4 separate regions of the Homo sapiens genome follow, and regions 2, 3 and 4 are each linked to region 1. The links are contacts of gene promoters, found by promoter capture Hi-C in blood cells and fetal thymus (Javierre and others, 2016). All regions are on one chromosome and are shown on one strand. Each heading gives the region's core, a stretch centred on a gene start or on the middle of the fragment in contact. The rest is flanking DNA. Distances are from core to core; before and after follow the strand shown. Region 1 holds the start of MMP14 (matrix metallopeptidase 14). Region 2 has its middle 25 kb from the start of TRD-AS1. Region 3 has its middle 19 kb from the start of LINC02332. Region 4 overlaps DAD1 (defender against cell death 1).

Region 1 (3,761 bases), core at 801-3,300:
TGGAGAAAAAAGCAACTATGTTGGGTCAAAGAACCCAGTCGGCTGGCTTTGTCTTTGCGAATGAGAGAGATGCAAGGTATCCCCTAGGAGAAAGTCAACGGAACACCTCCCACCTTGGCTTAGGGGTCCAGGGGAGGGTGGGGGGACCTCCAGCTCTGCAGTAGGCCCTGGATCCTAGCCTCTGGGGCTGCTCCTCCCTCCCTTCCTGGGCCCAGAAGCAAATGGTGGTTCTGGCACTGGGACCGCCCATGACCCAATTAAAACGGAGCCAGGGCAGCCGCCCCTCCCCTGGGGGACCCAGCAAAGCAGGGGAGGGAAAAAAGGTAAGGCAGTGAAGTTGGCGGTCGGCAGCTCCCCAGATGCTCAGGCTCGTTTTGTTAGGGGCGCTCCCTTTCAGGTCTCAGAGGACTCTAGGCCTGGGAAGAGGACGACTCCTCCCGGACAGTCAGGCTCAGCCTCCAGCACCAGGGCAGGTTTTTACTCTCCCTGGTCTCTGAGCACTCCACGTTTCGTCTTCCACCCCGATTCCTGGGGCCATACTTTTCCAGTCGGCCCCAGACCCTTTCAGGGACGCAGAGAGAAGACAGTATTCTTTCCAAAGAGTTTTCTCCGGGGTGGGACCAAGGAGGAGAAGCCAAACCCATATCCCATCCCCCTTCTAGGGCCCTTCCTGGCCCCTCCCAACCGCACCCAGGCCCTTGCCAGGCTGAGTGGGTTGAGATGGCCCAAAATAAGAAGCTCATTAAATCCGTCTCCCACCTTCACCCCAAAATAAGAGAGAGAGAGGAAAAACCTCCTCAGACAACTCCCACGCAGCTTCCTCTGGGGCCCGGTGGGCCACCGTCTGGGCCGGGGTGAGGGTGGGGGGCGCCCGAGCCAGCCCCGACGTGAGGGCACCCCGGACCAGACCCTCTCCCCATTCCCCAAGCGACGCCCCCAGGCTCCCTGCAATTAACACAGAAAAACTATTAACAACAAAAAGGGCCTGAAGGCGCCGACGCGGGTGGGGATAGGGGGAGGCAGCGACCCGGCCGATCGCCCGGCTCACAAGGAGAGCTTTGTGTGTACGGAAACGCGGCCAGCGCGCCGGCGCTGCGACCCTCGACGCCAGGGATGCGGGTAGGGACACAGCGGGGTCCTCTCGGGGAGACGGGGGCTGTGGCCCTGGACGCTCGGCCGTCCACCCTCGACCCCCACCTGGCCGCAGACTCGTCCGCTGAAGGCCTGGGCCACCCGGGGAGGCCGAAGCGCCCATCGGAGGGCGCGCCGGCGGGAGAGCGCTGGAGAGCTGGGAAGTCGAAGAAACAACAAACTCTCGCGCATGACGAGGAGCCGGGACAGCGCGGGGTTTGAGCGGAGTCCAAATGTTTATCAGGCGGTTCCAGAGCTGAGAGCAGAGCCCAAGGGAATCGGGGAAGGGGGAGTTCGCCCCAGTTGTAAAGTTCTTCCAAGGACTGGGAAAAAAGAAGGAATGGGAAGGAGAGTCGGCGGCGCAGGGGGTGGGGGCAGCTGGTTGGAAGCGGGCAAAAGTTGGATCGATCTGGAAGTTTGGAGACGAAGAGGAAAAAGAAAGGGAGGGGGAATCCTGCAGGCCTGAGCAGCGGAGATCCCAAAAGCCCTCCTCTCCGAATAGAGGCTGTCCCCTAGGAGACCCCCGGGCTCGCCTCCCGGCGGGCGCGACTCCGGGAAGGGCCGGGAAGCTCACTTACTTCGGGGCTGAAGCTGCTGCTTTGGGCCGAGCCGAGGGAGGCGAGCGCGGTGCCGAGCGTGAGCAGGGGGAGCAGGAGACAACGGGGGGGTCTTGGGGCGGGAGACATGGTCCGAGACCACCGGGTCAGCCGGGCAGTGTGGGCTCCGCGGCCGGGCCCACGCCCTGGGGTCGCACCGCCACTCCCTCGGGGCGCCTTTGTCTTCGGTAGGCACTGAACTTGAATTCCTAGACCGCTGTCGGCTTGGAGTTAAAGGGGATTGTTCCTCAAAGTGCCTGTTTGCTCTTCTCCTCTTTTCCGGTTTTTGATCTTTCTTCTGCTTAGTCGGCGAACTGGGGTCTGGTTCCCTCTCTCGCTCTCTCCTCTGGTCCCTCCCTTCTCCCACAGCCTCTCCTCCGTCCCCGCCCCAGTGCCCTCCTTTCCTGGTTGGGGACGTGGTTGTTTTAGCCTGAATCCAATTACAACCAAGAACTGGAAGGAAAAAAAAAAAAAACACCTCTAAGTTGCCTTTTTGTGGTGCAGGCTGCCATCTGCAGGGGTTGAGGCCGCGATGGACAGCAGGGGGCTGTAGGGGGATCCAGGGGACGGGATGTGGGAGACTTTGTCCCTATAAGCATATTCTGAGTGGCTTGATTCCTCTGGTATTCAGCATTTGTCTCACCTCAGGGTGGGAATTATTGGGGGCTATGTGGCTAGGGGCAACGAGGAGCTCAGAGTGTGGGATGGTGGTGGGGTCTTCTTCCATGCCCATGAGACCTGCAGAGGGAGAAGGGGCCAGTTTACTAATAGGGGGTTATCTTCTGGGCCCTGTAGACAACTGTCTATGTCCCTCCCTCTGCTGCTAAAAAATCCAAACTATAACCCAACTACCAACAACAAACCCCACAACCATACCGGATCTGTGGCTCCAACCTTTGTAGAAAGACAAAGGTGATTCCTTTATTGTCATTTGTAATGTGGCTGCACCTTTAATTGGAACTCGCTGGGAGGAAAAGGGTACAAGGCCGTGGGATCTGGGGGAAAGCAAATCAAGTTGGGTGAAATTATTGTAAAAGAAGGGATTGGGAGTTGGGACTCTGGGGTTTAGTTCCACCTCTACACTGAAAAAGGAGGCAATTCTTAAAGAGTTATAATCTCCTTTAGGGACTTACTGGACTCAGAACAAAAGGTGGAGGTATGTAGGGAAGGGAGAGGGCAGGATAAAGCTGACCGTGAGAAAGGGAGACAGATGAGTTGGGAACTAGACAGGTCTGGAAAAGAAGCACAACAGAAGCAGGAAAAGTGTGGGAGACAGAAAACTAGACTATCAGCGAAATCTAAGATCCAAGAATTGCATTTGGCCAGTGAGAGAGGACAGAGGTAGTGCGAGGAGGAAGGGAGAAGAAAGCAAAGGAAGGAATAGAGGAGGGTGGACAGAAATTAGGTCAGGTAGGAAGCTCCAGAAATCCTAGGGATGCACTTCTGTGGCAGAAGAATAGAAGTCTAGTGCTCAGTATTGTAATGAAAACAAAGGTCTTTTGCCCTCAGATTCATGATCAATAAAATGAAAAGCTTTTCAGGTCCTGTGGAGCCTCCAGGTTTGTGGGAGGTATATGGTGTGTGTTATTAAACAGCTACCTACCCCACAGTGACTGAGGGCTGAGCCCTTATGTAGGGCTTTCCTACACAAGCTGGGGTTGGGAGGTACAGGCCCCTCTTCAACCAATCTCTGGAATGCATTCAGAACCATGGAGACCTCAGGACCCCACTCTCGGCAGAACACGCAACACCCAGGTATGATTCTTCCCACATCAGCCTTCCCAGTGGGGGTAACCTCCTGGACCACATATCTGAATCTTAGGAAGACTGACACCAGATGCTTGCCAAAAAAGGGACCTTGGCTAGAAAATCTTTTTCATGAAAACATTTATTAGATGCCAGCTGTACATGGCCTAAACTGTGCATGAGCTGTTAAAGGCTTGACTGCCTGGCCAAAACTGGGAAAACTGCTGTCCCCTTTTCACGTTCACAGAACAGCTATTTCTCATAGTTGGGCTAGTCCTATGGCCTGCA
Region 2 (3,761 bases), core at 619-3,118, 330 kb after region 1:
CAGACAGTGATACCATGTCACTAACTTTCTTGGTTAAAAGTAAGGCTTACGTAATAGAAATTTAAGCTTGGAGAGAGAAGAAGTCCCCAACATGACTGTAACTTGTTGATTCTTTATATTTCAAGAGGAAGTGTTCAAAACTGATCTCATTTCTCTCCTTTCATCCTGGGAGCAGTGGGTGTCCAGAGCAAACAAAAAGAACTTATTCTAGAGAAAACAAAAGGGAAGCAAACGTAGGAAATAGAGTGACAGATACGTGGATCACAGTTCTAGTACTGAGCTAAGTTACCCTTAGCCTTCTCTTTCCCCTCCCTGACCCCTGGGAGTTAGGCCTGCCTGACTTCTCAGCACTCTTCCCAAGGATGGCTCTGGAGTCTCTTTTGGAAGAGAAATAAAAACATGGCCTATAGAAGAAGGCATTTGGACCGGCAGACACATAATTGTATAAATAGGTTAGGAGAGATTGTATTTGCACAGGTAAACGTATGTTCAGGGTCAATGAATAACTGGGAAACTGGGTTCACAGAAGCATAAAGCCTGCAGCATTTAGTTGAGAACAATTTGATTTTCTCAACTAAATTTTCCCACAGTAGTCTTTTTCTCCCCTGGGGTTTATCATAAAATTAGCATGTTTCCCCTCCCCTGACTGTGGTGTGCCATCCAGGAGAATGGGAATTTTGACAGCCTGCTATATCACGGCAGATAAGAGATGACAGCAGTGAACAAAGTCAACCTTCAGCCATCCTTTCCACCTAAGGGTGGCTGTCGCTTCCTACTTGCCATGGACACAGAATCCACCTGACACATGCCACTACTTACGTACTTGGCTGGACAGCAAGCAGAGTGCCAGTTCCAAAGATGAGCTTGTTTGTAGCACCACCATAATTCACACAGTCCTTCAGAGCCTTACACTAACCCTCAAGGAGGGGCACGGCAGGTTGGGATGAGGACAGCTTTGTGTCTTTCCAGGCTTAGAACACCTCAGTCCCAGTGTAGCAAAAGCTGACTTGCAGGCATCGCTGCAGCCTTCATATTCCTCTGACAGTGCCCTGACACTGTCATTTAAGTTACATCCCAAGGCCCAGAACCCTGAGTGACTCCAGCAAGTGACCGAGAGCTTTGCAGGCATCTGCTCTCCACGTGGGACAGCAGCCTGAGGCAAGGATGTCAGGAGAGCTGCAGACTTGGCTATTTTTCACCTTTGAACATTTTACCGTCTTTGGCTGTGTGACCCTTTCCTTTTTCTCTGAATTTGCTCTTCCAATGGAATGAGGCTGGTTCTGCCCTTGGCAAAGAGTTTTAACCATATCAGAGGGAATTAGATATTCCCTAACAACCTGGCTCTGCTCTCTTAGAGGGCTACTTAAGCATTATTCATTCCGGAAGCTACTAGACCAAACAAAAGAGTTAGCGGCTGACATGCTTCTCACTGGGAGTGGAGACCCCATTTGGGTTGAGTGCATTGTCTCCAGCAGGCTGACTTGTTCTTAAAAATATAATCTGCATGCTACACTTTGTGCATTATTCAACTAGTGTCTCCTCTCCCGTGCAGTCACATCTCTGAGACTTACCTGGCTTTATAATTAGCTTGGTCCCAGCGCCCCAGATTAACTGATAGTTGCTATCCACACAGACACAAAAACCTTAACAAAAACCTTCACTGTCCTTCCGGGGATCCTATTAGAGACAAAGCCCAGACAAAAAGTCTAGAGCAAAGCACATAAAACAATGAAACAACATAGGAATATTGGCTATTGGAGATTATTTGCTCATTTAATTACATTTGATTAAATCGAATGACTAAACATCCAAAGTCAATCTAGGTCTCTCTGCATACAAGGGAAGCATAATTCAGAAACAGTTTTCAAATTGGAGAAGTTGAACTTGCTTCACCTTCCCTGATATTTTAAATAAAAATGCAAAAGAGGGAAACAGATCATTTGTTTAGAGTCATAATGCATCTGACGCTCTAGTGCCTTCTTTTCACTGCTGGTAAGATTTTACTCAGTACCATGGTGTTCACATATAGGTTAAATTGTTCACATATAGATTAATTGGTTTATAGAAGGTTCTGCAGCTATAGGTGCTAAAGGCCCCTACAGAGCTCGGAGTTGGTAAGGGTGGCCTGCAGTGCTGTGAGAACGTTCCTGTTTATAGAAAACACCTTTTAAGGCTGGGCGCAGTGGCCTGTAATCTTTGGCAGGCCGAGGCAGGCAGATCACTTGAGGTCAGGAGTTCAAGACCAGCCTGGCCAACATGGTGAAACACTGTTTCTACTAAAAATACAAAAATTAGCCAGGCGTGGTGGTAGGTGCCTGTAATCCCAGCTACTCGGGAGGCTGAGACAGGAGAATCGCTTGAACCCGGGAGGTGGAGGTTGTAGTGAGCCGAGATCATGCCACTGCACTCCAGCCTGCGCAACAAAGAGCAAAACTTCATTTAAAAAAAAAAGAAAAAGAAAAAGAAAACACCTTTTCAAAATGGCTCCTTGGTTTCTAGTACTTACTTGGAAAGACTTGTAATCTGGTCCCAGTCCCAAAGATGAGCTTGTCGGTGTTATAAGACACAGTGATACTGAGATCTACAAAAACCTCCTAAGCCCCTCTGCTCTTCCCTGTCACTGGCACCAAATGACTATCAATAGCAAAGGAGATTTGGGGATACATTTAAAACACCAAAGCAATCAAACAGTCAGTTTTTGTTTCAGTCAAGTTTCATGTTCTGAAAATGCCTATGGCCTGTGCTTATTATGTTTTCAATGCATTAAGTGACAGCTCAAGACAGTTCACTGTAAGAAAATAGGGAATCTCAAGCTCTAATCCCAGTTATGATTTTTTTTTGGTTTGACTTAAATTATTTAACTTGTCTGTGTGTCAGCTTTTCTGTCTGTGACATATGTTTGATGATGTATGATCCTGTTTACCTTATTAGAGAACGTTGTGAAGATAAAAGGGCTGGGGATGGTGCAGTGGGTTACAGCATTGAAATGCATTGTGAATGATGTGGGGAAAATATGATGGTTCAAGTCAAGATATTATTAACATGAATAGTAGGGACTATGCTAGCTGAAGTTTATTGTCAAAATGATAACCACAAAACTTTCTTAGTAAAAACTGAAGGAGAATATATCTGTCTTGTGTGTTTTTCCACAAGAAAGTTAGTGGAAATAACCACTTAATCTGCCAGAAGAGACAGGCATGGAAAAGGTCAGCTGGATTCTGAAGTCTGACTGCCAGGGGAGAAGAAGAAATGACTGTCCTCCCACAGCAGTGAGTGAACATAGATTAGGTTCCCACGACATGCTAATGCCCTTGGCTGTTGGCAGCATTAAATGGAACCAGTTAAAATTATCTTGAAAAATGAATTTGACCATCTTAATGGTCAAACTGGCTGTGTAGGTAGACCCAGAGACTGTTTCTCCTCAGTGACTGGAAAATGGGTGTGTGTGTGTGTGTGTGCATAAGAAGAACTGTTCTATATGATTTACGGACATAACAGCCCACAGAAATGAGAAAAGATATACTTACGTGGTAAAACAATCACTTGAGTGCCGGACCCGCAATGCAGCACATTCCCAAAGCCTATCCACAATGGCTCATTCTTTTACAAAAACCTTGTCATCTCTTCATAACCACATGTTTTGTGTCTCAAGGTGGAAGCTAAAGCTTCTCAGGCAAGAGAGAGGATTCAGACGCACATCTCATGAATGCCATGGTATTCCTTATTTCGTGTCAGCCCCTCCTTCCTGAGGCTTTTCCTCA
Region 3 (3,761 bases), core at 937-3,436, 300 kb after region 1:
AAATAGTAGCTCATAATGGGATGATTCCCAGCAATGCTTTACACTGGGGGAAAGGATGAGGCTTCTTGCAGCCAGAAGCCCAGAAACGCATCCCTGTACCATCCATTCCAGTACCACAGAGTGCCTCAGCACCCTGGCTGGTATGCTCTAATTCAGGGGAAGGTATCTCACGGATTCTAGGGGAGGTGGTGACAGAGTCTCAGGTGGAAGAGACATAGGAGTGAGGGGGCAGAGTAGACCCCTTGGTTGCCAAGAAGAAAGTTCTGTTTTAGAAACCTAACCAAGAGTGAAGTCTTTTTTCACAACTTGGGGATTTGTCCTCTGAAATCATTGTGCAAAACCCTTGTCCGGCACAGCCTCAATCATCTCATCAGACCTGACACTGATAGTTACTCCCAGGCAACAAAGGACTCCTTTAATGATGGAATAGATCACAACACAAACTCTCACTACTACAGTATCCTTCCATAATATAATCTGTCTGCAAAATTTCCCTTGATCATTTCTATAATACTTACACGGATGAACAATAAGGCTGGTTCCTCTTCCAAATGTAGGTATGTAGCTTCCTCCTGATGCACACAGTGAGGACAGCCTTTGATAAAACCTGTTTCATGTGACCTCCCTCTACCAATTGCCCCATGGTATTGGGCAACATCCTGGGAAACCCTCCTGAATACTCTCTGAGTTGTAGAAAGTCTCCTACTGCTGTCCTTAGAGCCCCCGAGTGCTGGAGCCCAGGGGCGGGAGCCAGGGGCTGGGGACTGGAGAGCTCTTTGGCCCCCGTGTACCCAGGGGAAAATACCACCTTCCCATCAGCAGAGAAGCAGGGCAGCAACTCCCCATGTCTGCTCCCAGCACCCCAATACAAACACCACACTCTGCTTGCTTGGGGCAGACATTCTGAGGGTCTGGCTCTGCTACTCTTTAGTCAGATGCAAGGAGCTTCTGAAAGTGCTGCGAGGACAGAGAGCAAAGGAAATTTTATGTGACGTTTTTCCTGAAGCTGTTCTGACCTCCTTTTCTCAGAGTGCTCCTTGTTCTCTTTTCCTTTCCAGAGCTCTTTGGCACTTCCCACTCCTAGTCTTCTTCCTATGGGAGACCCTGGGGTTGGATTTCTGCATATCCCTGTTTGAGGCAACACTAAATCCAAGCAGGATTTAGGCACTTCCTGTGATTTGTGCTTTCATCCTTCCCTCTTTACCACCTAGAATTAGGCCAAGGCATCCAAAGCCCTTGGATTCCTTTATTTCTAATGACCTTGACTCAGACAAGGCCCTGCCTCTGTGAAACCCTACAATTACAGAGAAAAAAGTCACAATAATTTCCATAGAATTTTTGAAAGATGGGAGGAAACAGAGACCATGCTGTCTACTTCAGAGATATGAAAACTGAGGCTCAGGGAGGTCATGGCCTGCGCCACAGTCCTGAGCTGGGGCAGGAACTCAGTACTTGGTTCCCTAGCAGGTGGGCACTGTCAACACTCAGCTTATCTCACACTGGGTTTGAGGGTCACTTAGCAAAGAGCTGTGTGGCTCCACCAAACTCAGGGTGGGAGTAAAGGGCTGGGGCCCCTCCACTGCTGTGCACTGACCATCAGCACGGTCTTGGACAGATGCTAGACCCTGGCATCAGGTCCCTCTGCAACATGAGCAAGATGTCCCCACGGTCCCCTCCAGCTCTCACTTTTGTGGTCCTTTGTTCAATCTGAAATCCAGCCTCAGGGAAGATCAGGGGCAGCTTACATGAGAATGGGAGTGTGGTCAGTGGAGATGCAGAGAAGGGGAGAGTGAAAGAAACCAGGGACAGGCAAAGATTTGGGACAGTGGCCGCCTAAGGTTCTTCGATATAGCACTGATGAATGGCATGTCCTTCCCCCGCTCCCATGGAAATATGATAAGAGGCTCTCCAGCACAGGGTAGGGATGGGGGTGGCTGTGGCCATTTGTGCAGGAGGATCCCAGCTCACTTACTTGGTATGACCACCACTTGGTTCCCCTTCCCAAAAGCGAGTCTGTTGTTCCCATAGTCACACTGTGTAAGTGTATTACAAAAACCTCCTGGTTTTGCCCACCCCTTCTCTGAAGACACATCCCCTTCACAGTAGCTCTAAGATCTGGAAACCCTGAAAGGCGGATGCTAAAGTTTTCCTTGTAATGGGTGGTATGAAGACTTGAAGGAACCTCCCTAAAGGGTATAAACAGCACCAGACCCCACTGCTACCTGTTGGCCTTCATTTTCCTCATCACAGCTATCAATAAACACAGCTTTGGCTATTTCTCCTTTGGGAAAAACAGAATCTTCATAAAACTTCATGAAAAACATTGTATCCTACATAGGCTGGATGGGTGTGAGTATTTCTAAAGATACCAGAGAGCAGGCGGGCATTTTCCTACTTCATCTGCCATGCCTGAGAAGAAGGTACCATTTTCCTAGTGACATGTGCAAAAATGTATTTTTCACCTTGCCATAAATGCACACTGTGCTGGAGCACATGCTAAAGACATGCCTCGGCATGACTCAGAGTCACTCCATCCTCTTGGGGCTGAGTGAGAGTCTTGGGTGACTCACGCCTGACTCATTCCTGTTTCTGTCCTCACCCCCGCTCAAGGATGCTAACTGCCAAGGGGGCTTTTGTCCTCAAGAAAGTCAAAGATCTCAGCACAGAACAGACTCAATTCCGTTTCCAGAAACATATTTGGGGGAATCATGTGTGTTCTCTGCCAAAGAATGCGGCTGTGCATGGTCATACCTGTCCTGTCTCCAGCCCTCAGGAAACCCACCCCCCTATCTTGGCACATACACATATAAATTGTTGTTAGACTTTTTATTATGAGTGCTTAGTTTCTCTGATAAGACTGGAAGTTCTTGAGATCAGAAGCCTAAGATAGCTTAGGGTTTTAAAAATTCTTTTCTTTGTTTCTTTCTTTTAAAACCAATGATGATTCCCTGGTTTGTTGATGATACTCAATAATCATTTACTGAATTGAACTGACTTTTACTGTGCATAATTATTGGGACAGGGAGGCCAGTTTTGGGAGAGGTTAAAAGCTAAGTATACTCTGGGTAAATGTGAGCTGCAAAATCTAAGTGCTTAGGCAAGGAAAAACCAAGGAAGCATTTCTAAGAGAGATAATAAGAAGGCGGTATAAAAACCAAAACATCGTGAGGTTCATATGACCCTCAGCAGAGAGGTGGGAACTGACGAACAAATAAGAAACTTGACTCAAAGGAAATTCAAATATTTCCCTCCTGATATCTTGACAATAATTCTCCTTAAAGGTAAAAATAATAATATGGCAGAAAATGTATATTTGAAATTAGCAGCATTGTTATGATTAATAAGAACAAAATAGTAGTAATAATAATCTATTATAGACCAGAATAATTATATCCATATATGCCCAATATTGAGGATAGGGCTACACATTTCTGCAGATTTGACTTACTTGGACTGACCAGAAGTCAGGTGCCAGTTCCAAATACAAGTTTCTGAAAGCCTGTGTTCACACTCTGACATAACTCTGTACAAAATGGGACCCTGTCACTGGGCCATAGCCTAGGATTGCCAAGTCACATGCAAGTTAGTTACTAAGGGTGTTTCTATGTCTGCATGCATGTACCAAAGTGGTAGGAGGCATCTAATCTTACTATTTAACCTTAATTTTCCTAAGACCATTGGAAGATGACAACAAATCAGATAGAACCCAACTGAAGATTCTGCTTTGTATACCTTGGGTTATATAAAAATGTCACTAATAT
Region 4 (3,761 bases), core at 1,156-3,655, 260 kb after region 1:
ATTTTTTTCTTTGAGAAAGCCTCTAGGTTTCAGTGTAACTCTGAGAAGTAATATTTTTTTTCCTTTAACAGAGTGCGAAATTTAATTGTACAACTTGATAAATTTTTAAATGTACCTGTCTAACCACTATCCAGATCAAGATGCAGGACATTACCAGCACCATAGATGCCTCCTTGCATCTTCCCAGTTATCCTCTCCCTGTGAAAGATAAAAACCACTATCTTGCCATAGATTGGTTTTACCAAGTTTTAAGCTTTTTGTACATGGAATCATATAGCATATACTTTTTTGTTTTGTTTTGTTTTGAGACGGAGTCTCTCTTGCCCAGGCTGGAGTGCAGTGGCGCAATCTCGGCTCACTGCAACCTCCACCTCCTGAGTTTAAGCAAATTCTCCTGCCTCAGCCTCCTGAGTAGCTGGGATTACAGGTGCGTGCCACCATGCCCAGCTAATTTCTGTAGTTTTTATTAGAGATGGGGTTTCCCCATGTTGGCCAGGCTGGTCTTGAACTCCTGACCTTAGGTGATCCACCCACCTTGGCCTCCCAAAGTGCGGGGATTACAGGAGTGAGCCACCGTGCCTGGCCCTTGTTTTATTTTTTAATTTTTTTTTTTTTAGATGGAGTTTCGCTCTTGTTGCCCATGCTAGAGTGCAATGGCACGATCTTGGCTCACCTCCACCTCCACCTCCACCAATTCTCCTGCCTCATTGCCTCAGCCTGCCAAGCAACTGGGATCACAGGCATGCGCCACCATGCCCGGCTAATTTTGTATTTTTAGTAGACAAGGGGTTTCTCCATGTTGGTCAGGCTGGTCTTGAACTCCCGACCTCAGGTGATCCGCCTGCCTCGGCCTCCCAAAGTGCTGGGATTACAGGCGTGAGCCACCGTGCCCGGCCTTTTTTTTGTTTGTTTTTGGTCAAGATAAAACATGACAAAATTTACCATTTTAACCATTTTTAAGTGTATAGTTCTGTGGCATTAAGTACATGTACATTGTTGTAAAATCATCATCACTATCCATATCCAGAACTTTTTTGTCTTCCGCAACTGAAATTCAGTTCCCATTAAACAGTAACTCCTCATCCTCCTCTCTGTCAGTCCCTGGCATCTACCATTCCACTTTCTGTTTCTAGGAGTTTGACTACTCTTGATGTCATATAAGTGAAACCACATGGTATTTGTCCCTTTGTCATGGCTTATGTCACTTAAAATAATGTCCTCAAGATTCAGCCGTGTTGTAGCAGGTATCAGAATTTCCTTCCTTTTAAGGCTGAGTATTCCATTGTATGTATACATCACACTTTGCTTATCCGTTCTTCTGCTGACACTTGGGCTGCTCTCACCTTTTGGCTATTGTGACTAATGCTGCTATGAACATGGGTATGCAAATATTGCTTGAGAGCCTGGTTCCATCCCCCACCCTCCCAACCTCCCAGATGGAGTTTCTCTCTTGTCACCTAGGCTGGAGTGGGACGGAGTGATGTCGGCTCACTGCAGCCTCCACCTCCTGGGTTCAAGCGATTCTTCTGCCTCAGCTTCCCTAGTAGCTGGGATTACAGGCGCCTACCACCACGCCCAGCTAATTTTTGTATTTTTAGTAGAGACGGGGTTTCACCATGTTGGCCAGGCTGGTCTCGAACTCCTGACCTCGGGTGATCCGCCTGGTTCAGCCTCCCAAAGTGCTGGGATTGCAGGTGTGAACCACTGTGCCTGGCCGAGATCCTGCTTTCACTTCTTTTGGATATGTACCCAGAAGTGGAATTGCTGGATTATATGATATGGCAATTCTGTTTTTAATTTTTTTGAGGAAACGCAGTACTGTTTTTCACACTGGCTACCCTATTTGATTTTCCCACTTGTTAGTGCACAAGGGTTTCAGTTTCTCTGCATTCTTGCCAACTCTTGTTTTTTTGATACTAGACATCCTAATAGATGTGAGGTGATATCTCGTTGTAATTTTGATTTGTATTGCCCTAGTGATTAATGATGTTGAGCATCTTTTCATATGCTTGTTGGCCATTCCTATATCTTCTTTGGGGAAATGTCTATTCAAGTCCTTTGCCCATTTTAAAATCTGGTTATTATTTTGTTGTTAATTGCATTGTAGGGGTACTTTAATATATTCTGATATTAACCCTTTATCAGATAAGTGATTTGCAAATATTTTTCCCCATTCCGTAGGTGCCTTTTCACTGTTGTGCCCTTTATTGTACCTTTATCACAGAAGTTTTAAACTTTGATATAGTCCAATTTATCTATTTTTACTTTGTTGACTGTACTTTTGGTGTCATATCCAATAAATCATTGCTAAATCCAATGCCATAAAACTTTTGCTCTGTTTTCTTCTAAGAGTTTTTTAGTTTTTGGTCTTTATCCATTTCGGATTTAGGTCTTTGATCCGTTTCGAGTTAATTTTTGTAGTATATGGTATAAGGTAAGGGTCCAGCTTCATTCTTTTGCCTATGGATATCCAGTTTTCCCAGCATCGTTGGTTGAGAAGACTGTTTCCCCATTGAGTGGTTTTGTCAGTTTGGTTGAAAATCATTTGATTTTGTATACGAGGGTTTTTGTGTGTTTCTTAAAAAACAAAGCAATTAAATTGATTCATTTTTTAACTGTAGTAAATGTATTTTTAAAATAAACTTATAATGGAAAACCTGAATCATTATCCCTAAATAGAAGGTCACACTAAAAATACCATGGAGCTAGGCAGATGTGTTCACCCGTGCCTGTGGTCCCAGCTGCTCAGGAGGCTGAGGTGGGAGGATCGCTTGGGTTCCAGTCCGGCCTGGGCAGCACCACCAGACCCTGTCTCCTGCCGAGTTCTCAGTGGCTCTGTGTGGCTGCATCCCAGAATATTCCTCATCTAATTGAGGGGGTACATTTGTTCCCCCAGCATATACACTTAGGCTCTGCCCTGTGGTCTCTGTGTGGGAGCTGGGCTTTTTTGTCTTTGGCTTCCTCTGGGTACCTGCCAGGTTCCAGCTGGTTTGGCCAGCCAGTGTGTATTTTTTAAGTTTTGTCCGGGCACGGTGGCTCATGCCTGTAATCCCAGCACTTTGGGAAGCCGAGGCAGGTGGATCACAAGGTCAGGAGTTCGAGACCAGCCTGGTCAGCATGGTGAAACCCCGTCTCTACTAAAAATACAAAAAATTAGCCGGGCATGGTGGCGCATGCCTGTAGTCCCGGCTACTTGGGAGGCTGAGGCAGGAGAATTGCTTGAACCCAGCAGGTGGAGATTGCAGTGAGCCGAGATCATGCCACTGCATTCCAGCCTGGGTGACGGAGCGAGACTCTGTCCCCGACTCCCCAAAAAATAAAGTTTTTGATTGTGTTGCCCAACTTACTTGTGCAATTCATCCATTTTTGTGTATAGCAGAAGTTCTTTTTCATTGCAGTATAATATTCTATTGTTTGTATATGCTATAATTTATCCATTTTACTGTTGATAGACATTAGATTGTTTCCAGTTTGGGGCTATCTGGGTATCATTTCTGTGTATGCCCTTTGATGTATATATGCATTCATTTCTGTTAGAGTAGAATTGTTGGGTCCTCGGGTATGTCTGTGTTCATTAGCATATTTATTTTATACTTCTATATAATCATTTTTTTGTGTTTTGCTTCTTGTGCAGTTTGCCTGAGAATACAGATCAACCCACAGAACAAAGCGGATTTCCAAGGCATCTCCCCAGAGCGAGCCTTTGCTGATTTTCTCTTTGCCAGCACCATCCTGCACCTTGTTGTCATGAACTTTGTTGG

What was found. The method cuts DNA at HindIII sites, captures the fragments that hold promoters and counts their contacts. A CHiCAGO score of 5 or more calls a contact.
Region 2: a fragment that was not itself captured here is called in contact with the fragment with the promoter of MMP14 in region 1 in 1 of 17 cell types (total B cells); the score reaches 6.0 in total B cells.
Region 3: a fragment that was not itself captured here is called in contact with the fragment with the promoter of MMP14 in region 1 in 1 of 17 cell types (neutrophils); the score reaches 5.3 in neutrophils.
Region 4: a contact is called between a fragment that was not itself captured here and the fragment with the promoter of MMP14 in region 1, in 14 of 17 cell types (neutrophils, naive B cells, total B cells and 11 more). The highest score is 19.7, in neutrophils.

What each region holds. Positions count from the first base shown.
Region 1 is chr14:22,834,874-22,838,634 of GRCh38, reverse strand. It overlaps MMP14 (matrix metallopeptidase 14), which reads right to left and starts at 2,050. Exons shown (of 10, transcript NM_004995.4): 1 at 1,710-2,050. The coding sequence starts at 1,817. MRPL52 (mitochondrial ribosomal protein L52) reads right to left here. Exons shown (of 5, transcript NM_180982.3): 5 at 3,598-3,761. RefSeq lists a silencer at 2,176-2,392. The HindIII fragment of the contact is 13,873 bases long and covers 1-3,262 here.
Region 2 is chr14:22,506,469-22,510,229 of GRCh38, reverse strand. It overlaps TRA, TRAJ35, TRAJ34, TRAJ33 and TRAJ32. Among named protein-coding and RNA genes, the nearest start is that of TRD-AS1, 25 kb to the right of the region's middle. RefSeq lists enhancers at 111-460, 1,191-1,270. The HindIII fragment of the contact is 3,599 bases long and covers 69-3,667 here.
Region 3 is chr14:22,535,892-22,539,652 of GRCh38, reverse strand. It overlaps TRA, TRAJ8, TRAJ7 and TRAJ6. Among named protein-coding and RNA genes, the nearest start is that of LINC02332, 19 kb to the left of the region's middle. RefSeq lists an enhancer at 2,307-2,776. The HindIII fragment of the contact is 8,118 bases long and covers 1-3,761 here.
Region 4 is chr14:22,575,107-22,578,867 of GRCh38, reverse strand. DAD1 (defender against cell death 1) reads left to right here. Exons shown (of 3, transcript NM_001344.4): 2 at 3,635-3,761. Among named protein-coding and RNA genes, the nearest start is that of DAD1, 12 kb to the left of the region's middle. The HindIII fragment of the contact is 4,300 bases long and covers 256-3,761 here.